Linked DNA regions of Homo sapiens: regions 1 and 3 are each linked to region 2. Evidence: promoter capture Hi-C in 16 types of primary human blood cells and fetal thymus (Javierre and others, 2016). All regions are on one chromosome and are shown on one strand. The core of a region is centred on a gene start or on the middle of the fragment in contact, and the rest is flanking DNA. Distances in the headings are between cores, read along the strand shown.

Region 1 (3,599 bases), core at 447-2,946, 350 kb before region 2:
GTCTGTCCTCTAGCCCCGGCTCTAAACCAGGCATCGAGCCAAGCACTGTGGGGGACACACAGAGCGTGGCACAGAGGAGGTGCTTGATAAATACTAGTTCCTTCCCTAGAAGGATGGATAAGGAAGCAGAATTGTCAACAATTGACTCTAACCCAAGGCAGAATGAATTGGCTTAAATTGAAGAATAAAGTACAAAAGCACCTAAGAAGAGGAAAGCCTTCACCAAGGATGGAAATTGAGAGATGTCTTTACGGAGGAGCAGAATGTCCAAAGACCCCGAAAGAGGTGTTGAAGTGAAGCTTGGGCATTCTTCATGGGCAATCTGCATGCCTCACTGCCTGCTTCATTCATTCACTCCCTGGAGAAGGGCTCTCTGCAACAGCCTATCTCACACTGTGTGAGGAGGGATTTTGAGGATTTTGTTCTCTCCTGTACCCCCAGTGCCTGGAGCACACTGGGAGCTTAATACATATTTGTGAGCTAAATACCCAAATGGGTGAGTGGATTCCAGGAAAAAGGCACAACAGGGACAGACCAGAGAAGCAGCCTCACCTGTGCCAGGGACTCTGCGCCAGATGGAGTGCCAGGAGCGAGCAGTGTGGGAGGACATGGTAAAATGAGAGGTCGATGGGGGAAGACTGAGAAAGGCCTTGAAGTCATGCTGAGGAGTTCAGGTTGTCCTGTAGGTGATAGGGAGCCATTGAGAGTTCTGAGTGGGAGAGACAGGATCCAATCTATGTTTCAGAAAGATAACTTGGGAAATGTGGAGTATAGTGGAAAGGATGGGTCTAAGAGCAGAGGCAGGAAACTGGTAAGGAGGAGGTTGCTTCCCCTCAGAGATGTCAAGGGTCTGGACTCAGGCCATTTGTTCAATAGGTGAACGGTAGAAGGGATGAAGGCAGTGATGAAGAGAAAAGCACCAAAAGGGAGACATTACAGGGAGTGTAGGATTCAGTGATCAGCGAGATGGGAGAGGGAGAGAGAGTGTGGAGGGGCCGCCACAGGGCTTCAGAGAGGTGGTGTGCGAAGTGCATGTGCACCTGTGTGTGTGCACTCATGCATGTGTCGAGGGATGGAGCTCACATGGTGGGCAGTTCTGACATACATGGGGGTTTGTGGGGCTGCTCTGATGGGCCTGTTCCTTGTCAACAGGGCAGATGGCAATGCTGGCCTGATGCTCAGGAGAGAGGTAGAGGGTAGGGAATGGAGAGTTGAAAGTCATCATCATGGAGGGGTCATTGAAGCCAAGGGTGAGAATGAGATCCCCCAGGATGAGAATGTAGATGGAGTGAGAAGAGCAGAGAGGGCCTGGGTGCGGCGGCTCATGCCTGTAATCCCAGCATTTTGGGAGGCCAAAGCAGGAGGATTGCTTGAGGCCAGGAGTTTGAAACCAGCTTGTGCAACATAGTGAGACCCTGTCTCTACAAAAAATAATTTAAAAAAATTATCTGGGCATGATGGCACCCACCTGTAGTCTTAGCTACTTGGGAGCCTGAGGTGGGAGGATCACTTGAGTCCAAGAGTTCGAGGTTACAGTGAGGTATGATCGTGCCACTGCACTCCTGGCTGACATGTGAGTGACCTGTCAGTGTGTGAGAAAAGGCATTTTATCCTCTTTTAATTCCTCTCTGGAGAGTGGAGCCTAGAACCCTGACTGCCTCTGACCTTGCCGTCCAGTTAGGGTGTGGCCCTGGAATGTGGCTGCCTTCCCTCAGTTCTTTCCCTGTGGAATTGCTGCTCTGTGTGGGCTTCCTTTCCTTTCGGAGGTAGGATGAGGCAGCTTGGGTGGCCCTCAGATGGGAAAAAGACCCAGGAGAGCCACGAAAGGAACATAAGGAGAGGATGGAGAGGGTAGAGAGCCCTGCTCAGGTGCACCGAACATCATGACTTAGAGTCTAATTGGCAGCTCAAACATGGCACATCCCAAACCAAATTCTTGCTTCCTTCCCATGCCCCCACACCTGAACCCCCATCCCTCTGAGTAGCACCACTCCTCCCTCATCCAGTTGCTCAGGCCCAAACCCCGGGACACAGCCTTTGGCTAATCCAACAGGGATTCCTATGGCCTCTGCCTTCAGACCATCTTCTGAACCAGATGTCTTATCTCTTCCGGCAGGCGAAGCAAACCTGGCCCCAGATGCTCTACTCTCACCTGGGCTCCTCACAGGCCTCCCTGTTCCTATTCATGCCCTCGCAGAAGCCAGAGTGATTTTATAAACAACATAAATCGAGTTGTTTTATGCCTTTGTTCAAAGTCCAGTAGTTGTTCACTACTCTCAGAACTAAGCCTGAAGTCCTATGGCCCAGAAGGCTCTGTACCGTCTGTCCCCTGGACACCTTTCTGACTTCATTTCCAACCACCCTCTGCAGCTGCCTCCTTCCTGGTCTCCACACCCAAAGAATGCATCCCTGTGGCCTGGCTGTCCCCACTCCCTGGGAGACTGTACCCCCAAACATGCTCATGACTTGCTCTGCTTACACATTACTTTATGTAATTCCTTTATGGGGCCTCTGCTTACACATTACTTCCTAGGAGATGCCTGGCACACACTAGGAAAACGAATGAATGCATGTATGATAATACCGGTTTTAACCTTGTGCCTGGCACATAGGAAGTTCTTACAAGGTCTCCTGTCTCGGCTATGAAATCTGCTCCCACTCCCAAGGGTATGGCTGGTTCTTTGTAAAGGAGGCCCCTCCTACACATACAAGGTGGAAATCAGCTCTGCAGAAAAGACAGACGCACGAGCTGCCACTGGCCGCCAGGGGGCGCCACATGCAGCGGTATCTGCACACTGTGGCTCGGGCGGCAATGCGGCAATCTGGGAGGGCTGCGGCCGTCAACGCCCACGCAGCAGGGAGAGACCGGGAGTGGACAGCCACAGGCAGGGCTTCTTAACCAGCCGCGCCTGGCTCCCTGCGCATCCCGTATCCCGGGTCCTAAGAGATAAAAGGTCAGGGGAGATTTTGAGGGTTTGATATTTTTCGCCACCTATTTGTTAAGCCCTTAAACCCCAGCACTTTCAGTCACCTGAGGTCACCTCTCTGACAACACCTCCCCTTCCGCATTCTAAAAATACAAAACCCAGAAACAGAAGCTTTAGTGTGGTTAAGTAACATACACTCTCTGCCTGACAAACTCCTCAGCCCTCCCCTGGACAGCTCCCAGTCTCTCCAAGCCGACTTAACGTCCTAGGAGACCACCTCTCCCTGTTCACGTGCCCTGTAGCAAATGCTGCTGTGAACTGCGATTGTGTGAGCTTCCTGAGAGCAGCTTAATGAGAGAGAGAGAGCGAGAGCGAGAGAGAGAGAGAGAGAGAGAGAGAGAGAGAGAGTGAGTGAGAGAGAGAGAGAGAAATTTGGTGGGTAAGACTTCTCAGCCCCCAGACCAAATTGGATATCCCTAACATACCCCTGTCCTCACACATCCCGGCCTCTCCTTTCAGACCCTCTCTTCTCCTTTCCCTCTGTGTGAACCATGTCAGGCAGGTTAGCCTTGGAGGCTCTCAGTGTAGACAGTGTCTTAGAGATCCCCTCACTCTTCTTGGGTGCACCCGGCAAACACGGGTTCCAGGAACTCACTGATCACCGCCCCATCC
Region 2 (3,624 bases), core at 751-3,250:
AATAAATACATTCAAAAATAATAAAAACAATGCATAAATCAATGAGTTAATGAACTCAAAATGACTTATGAATGTAATTTGTAATTTAAAAATCTCCAAATCCCCAAAAGGATTAGAAACTGGATAACAGAGTTAAGGGTACACACACACACACACACACACACACACACACACAAAGTAAAGTTGTTTATCTTACTTTTTGTATTTAAAAATGCAATCCTAAAACAAATTTTCTATAAATTAAGCTAAGTCAGAAGTCAGTAAGTATTCAGGTACTAAAATAAGGCTGCAGAAATTAATCATTTAAAAAGTAATTCTACTTTCTCATATGTACACAGGGCACTCTCTGCCCCTTCCCCCAAACTTCCACCACAAAATTAAAAAAAAGAAAAAAGAAAAAAACACACAAGTACACCAAAAAATGGCTCTTTTTATGATTTGAAATACAATGGTTCTATCTTGACAGTTCAACAGAATTTTGGCTCATTACTATTAGTGACCATTTCCTTTTATAATATTGCTTTTAAGGACTCACCATTACTTACGGTCTTTATTGCAATGGAGTTTTCTACTTGCAATTAAAGAAAACTACCTGCTGGGCTAAAATCTGTACAGAATTAAAGTTGTATGCTTATAATAGTAATAGTTAACATTTAAATTGTGCTTTACTATTTTCCTACACGACGTATTTTACATTATTTCATTCTCCTAATCTTTAAAATATTTCTAAGTGCTATTATTTACAGACTGGAAACAGGTACCTGGCCTCACAAATGCTAACTAGCAAAGTTGAGATTAACCCCAGGTAGCTTGATTTTCTTCAAACGAAAATCCTCTTCCATGAGTTTTGCATCTTAGTTCTTCATTTTCTTATTAGAGTCTGCAGACCCTATTTTTTCCTCATCACTTAATCTACTAACCATGTGAGAGTACAAGTGAAAATATTCTGCTTTAGCTAACATTGTTTCCAATTCATTTCCTTGTAATACAATTTAAAAAAAAAAACCCAAAAACTAAGTTACTGATCATCTATTTTCTAACTTTACAAGAATATCTTCCTTAGAAATACTGGACTCTCCTCATGCCAAATATAAATAGCCAATGAAATGGCACTTCATTACACCCTACTTCAAAAAGGCTGTTCAAAAGGACTGACTTTACACGAGGATTTCTCCAGTCTTACTTCTCTCTCTTCACATAAAACTATTACTTGAAATTTTAAATATTCGATCTCCTCATTCTAAAGCCCTTTTTCTTCAATCACACACCCTTTCTGTCTCACTATTAAAATCTATTTTCACTGAAGGTCCAGCGCCACCAGGGCTGCACTTGCTAATCCGTGCTGACTGCTGCGTTTCTGCGTGTGCGTGAGAATCTTCCAGAAGGTTTGAGTCACATAAGAGCGTCGGCCATCTTGGTTTTCATCTCCCGTGGAGATCTACTCGGTCCGCCTATTAAACTTGAGACGCTGGGGTCCCGCGGAGCCGCTGTGTCAGGCTCTAAAGAGGTTTTACATTTCCCAGAGGAAAGCGCTCTATGGGCTTTAAGCGCCGCGGAGACAAGCGCTTCCCGCCTGGGTGGCGCACTCTGCGGGCTCCAACTCCTCTCAACTACACAGCGTCCGGAAACGACGGCCGACTCCACATCCCTAAGACGGACAGAGGGGCAGCCGTGGGGAGGATTCGAAACCGGTACTTACCAACGCGAGGCGTTGCCTGAATTTTCCTCTGCGGGTTTCAGGAAGACCCTCCGTAGGTTATTTGACATTTTAGTGGGGAGAAAGGGGACACCTCATCCAGAAAAGTGGGAAGCGTGGGGCCGAGTTTCCCAATGGGGCGAGAACCAGAGCGAGGGAATGTTGGGCTGGAGTTGCCCACAGCAACTGTGAGGGGTTCGACCTTAACGGAGGGCGACAGCGGGCTCTCGAGAGGGTGTATCCCCAGGCTTCGGGACGAGGTCGCGCACCGCGCAGAAACCGGAAGGCTCCTGGCGGTGGACTGCGCCCTCACAGCCCTACGCTGAGAGAGAATCGGCGTGAGTCTCCGCCCTCAGAGCCTACGACAACTCTCCAGACTCCGCCGGAGCAGGCGCAGGGGGCGTGGCCTTGGTGGCACCACCCCCAACAGAGCCTGGTCAGTGCTGAAGACTGCGTCAGTCTGGCTCTGCCGCCCCGCCCACTGAAGCCGATAGCTGGAGCAAAGCTCGGTCGGGCGTCTTCCGGGGTCGTCACGTCCGGTTGCCAAGGTGACTGGCTCGCTAAAGCCCAACCCTTATGATGCAATCCAATGGCAAGTGATATTTGCTATCTTTTCTTCCGGATCAAGGAACAAATCGCAAAAGAAAGCTCTCCCGACACCTACGCAAAATAAAATGTTTCCGGGGTCAATCATAAATTTTCTGCTTCTGTGCTCGCCGCTAGCGTACGTTTTTCTCTCCCGTCAGTGCATTAAAAGACATCGGCGCGCTTTTTTGGAGTCATGCACTTCTGGCCTGAGAAAACTTAAAACGCCTGCCTGTGGCCAGCGATTATTGTTGCTGCTTCTCTGAAGGTTTCCCATTTACTCCTCTTTCCTGAAGCTTTGCCTCTAGACTTACTTAACTCTTTCCTCCAGCCTACGTTCATCGAAACTATCACTTATTGTCATATAGACCTTTATTTCTGAAGGGAGATCTGGGAGTTGCATCAGAACATCCATTGTATTCATTAAATCATTTATTCAGCTGTCCATTGCAGTTGATGCTCTTTATCTCACACTATTTGAGAATTTTTCCTCGCAGCACTATTAATTAGTCCCTCATCTTGACGCCATTGGCAATATACTTTCCTGGTTTTGCTCCTACCTTTTTGTCTACACCTTCTCAATCTCTTTTGAAGATATCTCCCTTTTCAAGGGAGTTCCTTTCAGCTTGATCACTGATTCTCTTATGTTTTCAAACTGTCTTGTCTCGATTCGTGGTTTTATTCATGCTCCTGGATTGAATTACCACCTCCACCCATTATTTTACCACCAAACACATGTATGTCCTTGGCACTGATTTAAGTGTTTTACAAAATTAATTTACTCCTAACAGCTAATAAAATAATTATTATATGCAGATGAAGTAACTGATGCTCAGAGAGGGTGAACAAATTTTTAGAGGTCATAGAGCTTGTGAGTGATGGAGCCAGGCTCCAAATCCAGGTTGTCTGGCTAAACACACCATGTACTACTGCATTATGCTGCCGTGTGACTCATAAATTTATGTTCCCAGTTCTGATTTCTCTGAGATCTATACCTGGATGTTCAAGTGAATTGTTGAGATATCCTTTTTGCTATTTTAAAAGCCCCTTCAAATGAAACATGTTCAAAACCACACTTATGACTTGCTTCTCTTCCCCCCACTACACGTTTTCTTTTATCAGTGCTATCTCAGAAAGAAAGAAAGAAATAACTTCCTTCCATTAAAGTTGCCTAAATCCCAGTGTCATCCTTAACACTTTCCTTTTTTTATTCCAAAATATACAATTCACCAACTTTTGCAGATTTTATCTTCTAAATATCTTACAAGTCTGCTTTATATTTCTATTACTACTACTGTAGAGCAAGCTTACTTGGTCTAGTAAAGCTTTAACGGATACCCTCA
Region 3 (3,222 bases), core at 561-3,060, 290 kb before region 2:
TTATCAACCACTTCCTAAAGGTATATAAAAACAAGTGATTTCATTAATATATATAGAATTGCCCCCAAACCCATACGGAATAGTACAAAAACCAATAATTGTATCCTCCTTAGTTTAAAAGGCCTAAAACAAAACACAAAGAAAAAGCTCCCACTGTAAAAATGCAGCCCTAAATATCCTCTTCCACATTCTTATGCTCCTCACCTCTATCTCACAGTGTTTCCATAAGTCTTCAGATTATGGGGCACGTGTGCTTCTTTGCATTTCTTAGTGGGAAGGGTTATCACTTCTATTCACAGCTGAGAGGTGGGAAGGACTTGGAACTGCTGTAGAAAATGTTGAAATTTTAAATGTATAGAAGTCAATAAGTTATAGTTATGGTACTCAAAGGAACAGACTACTAGTATATATTATATACATTGTCTTTATATACTATAGCAAAACAAATACTTGAGTATATTATACGCCAAAAAGGTAAATAACAAGTTTTATGCCAACAAACCATAACTTTAAATGTCTTCATACTGTGCATTTAAATTTCAATACTGAAATTTTATTTCAAAGTTTAGAAATAACTGACATAATGCTTCCTCCTATGCGTAGGTGTCTGTGGTTATGTCACCACAGTTGGTGTATCATGTCATTTTAAAACATCATAAAAGAAATAAAACAATAACAATGTTAACTTCCATGTTTCTATCTGGATTCATCAGCTGTAAGGCATATACATTTTTCCCCAGGGTGTTGATGGGTGTGCACTGATCCAGTCACACCTCCTCACATGAATCTCTTGCTATACACAGACATCCGTATATTTCTTCAACACATAAGACGTGCAACTGAGCTCAACAGTGAAGGTTGTAGTTTGGCAAAGCCAGCTGGCATGTGCAAACGTAGGCTCATTAGAATTTTGCTCTAAGCCCAAATCATTATCCATTTTCATTTCATAAATGATTTAAGAACTGAGAGAAGGGTCTGCAGCTATTATGTAGGAAAAATTTTATTTTAATTTCTTTAGAGCACAGATGCCCTTAAAGATCCATGGAGTGGTTAGGTAAGGCAATAATGTCACAAGTTTCAGTGAACTGGCAATCTCATTCTGCTTTTAATACTTCTGTTCTGAATAATTTCTTCCCTCTTAATAAGGGAGAGTCAAAATATTTACATGACTTTCTGGTATGGTTCTTCAGTAAATGAAGCAAAGCATAAGGAGATAGAAAACTAATTTGCATAATGCTATCATCTATTGTTGATTAAAACACATGAAAACAGAAAAATCTTGAAACTGAAAAATATCCATTGTCATAGCAGTTATCACTAAACACTACTATGACTGGTTATACTTTCTAAGATTAAATCTAGATAAACCAACTATAAGAAAATAATCTTTTGTTATTAGAAAAGTCAATCTCTTCATCTTATTTAAATAACTTATATTTGATGCTTATATTTGGTTAAAATACCTGCTTATTTTAAGCAGGTTAATTTTCAGTATACTGAAATGAAATAGGTTTCTGGAGATATGTTATCTACATGAACTCATTAATTAGTGACATAGGCTGAAGCCAAGTCTAAAAGCATAAGAGATTTGTCTTTCAAGTCACCTAATAAAAGTAGCATGGGTTTCAGAGCCAGAATAACCTGGCTTTAAATCATAACTGAGTCTCCTGCTAGCTGTGAAGTCTTAGGGAAATCACTTAACTTTAAGCATCTATTTTATGCCCTCCTAAAATGAGGTTAATAGCACTTACCTTGCGGAGTTGACAAGTGTCCAGGACATGGTTGACTCTTAATAAATGGTAATTATTATTCTTATAATAGAAAGGAAATAGGAAGACACTGATTACTTGTGTATTTCATATTCACAAAACATTGTATTAATTATACAGTGCTTGTGAGTGATGATCACAATATAATCTCTTAGCAAAATCTCTGATGCCGTGTCATGGAATTATTTTTTCTAAGTGTTCTACCTGTATTAACATTTACTATTCACAATAAACCTGTGAGGTACTGTTTATCACCCTCATTTTACAAACAAAGAAACTGAGGCACAGAGAGGTTAAGTAATTTGTTCAAGATCATATACCAGAGTCAGGACTCAAATCCTGGAAATATGACTGCAGAGCTTATGCTTTTAACCACTTTATTAAAAGCCTGGAAATAACATTTATGTAAGATAACAGCCATTCACTCAACAAATATAAAAGGTGCCACATTCTGTGCTAGGCACTAGTACCTAAAACCTTCAAGACACAGAGCTTATATCCTTTAGGGAACTTACAATGTGGTGACTACAAGCAATCATATTACCTCAAAGTTATGAGTCAAAAGCCAGGATATTTCTCTGGATTAAAGAACAAAGGCCCCCTTTAAATTACTGCCATTTAATAACCATAAGAATTATGGCACAACCATAATTTACTTATAGAACTAATCAAGGTTTCTACATCTCCTGAATAAATGTGAATAAAATTGTCATTGCACTTCCTCCATCTCTATGTTAAGAACAGATACAAAAATTATTTTAATGTAATTGTTACAATGTATCTAACATATTATCAAAATGTGTCATAAAAATAATTTCTGGTCATTAAGGGTACCAAACGTTTGGTCAAGAGGTAGATCAATGTCAAAGGTTAACTCAAACAAAAAGCAAAGAAAACTAGATAATGAAGTCCTACTTAGATATACATAGATAAAAACAAATATATGATAAAAAACAAACAACAAATCTATGACCAGGTATATTTAGATTTCTTGCCTCTATTTGTTTGGTCTTTTCCTTCCTCAGCTCTCTCTTATAGTCTCAATCACTATTTTCCTCTCTCTTCAATGCATGCATTATAAATGTACTCCTAACTGAAAATACTTCATGGGCTTTAAAAATAGGGTTACTCTCATTTACTCTGGAAGGATAGAATAGTTATATGCTATTAAAACCAAAAAACAACTGTAGATAATGTATAATTTATATAATGTATATGAAACAGAATGATTATGTTTAAATAAAATGTTACTCTTATTTTTAACCCTTTTTTGTTTCAAAGAACTGTACCACTGCATACTATTAAATAATTATGTAAATTAAAATTGGACCAATAATCTAACAGCAGTAGATTCTGCCATTTATCCTTTTTAAAGGGAAACAGGTTGCTTGGAGGCCAAGTGGGTTAGTAAAAGGAACGGAATAATTTTCAGTTTGGCTTGAGTGAAGGTTAT

What was found. Contacts are between HindIII fragments. The CHiCAGO score rates a contact against its expected background, and 5 or more counts as called.
Region 1: a fragment that was not itself captured here is called in contact with the fragment with the promoter of LRIF1 in region 2 in 9 of 17 cell types (naive CD8 T cells, naive CD4 T cells, activated CD4 T cells and 6 more); the score reaches 9.9 in naive CD8 T cells.
Region 3: a fragment that was not itself captured here is called in contact with the fragment with the promoter of LRIF1 in region 2 in 1 of 17 cell types (naive CD4 T cells); the score reaches 5.9 in naive CD4 T cells.

The regions. Positions count from the first base shown.
Region 1 is chr1:110,616,754-110,620,352 of GRCh38, forward strand. It overlaps a transcript of KCNA2 not described here. Among named protein-coding and RNA genes, the nearest start is that of KCNA2, 12 kb to the left of the region's middle. The HindIII fragment of the contact is 2,799 bases long and covers 298-3,096 here.
Region 2 is chr1:110,961,922-110,965,545 of GRCh38, forward strand. It overlaps LRIF1 (ligand dependent nuclear receptor interacting factor 1), which reads right to left and starts at 2,001. Exons shown (of 4, transcript NM_018372.4): 1 at 1,700-2,001. The coding sequence starts at 1,767. RefSeq lists enhancers at 1,589-2,125, 1,660-1,869. The HindIII fragment of the contact is 2,635 bases long and covers 1-2,575 here.
Region 3 is chr1:110,668,019-110,671,240 of GRCh38, forward strand. It overlaps a transcript of KCNA3 not described here. Among named protein-coding and RNA genes, the nearest start is that of KCNA3, 5.3 kb to the right of the region's middle. The HindIII fragment of the contact is 4,893 bases long and covers 1-3,222 here.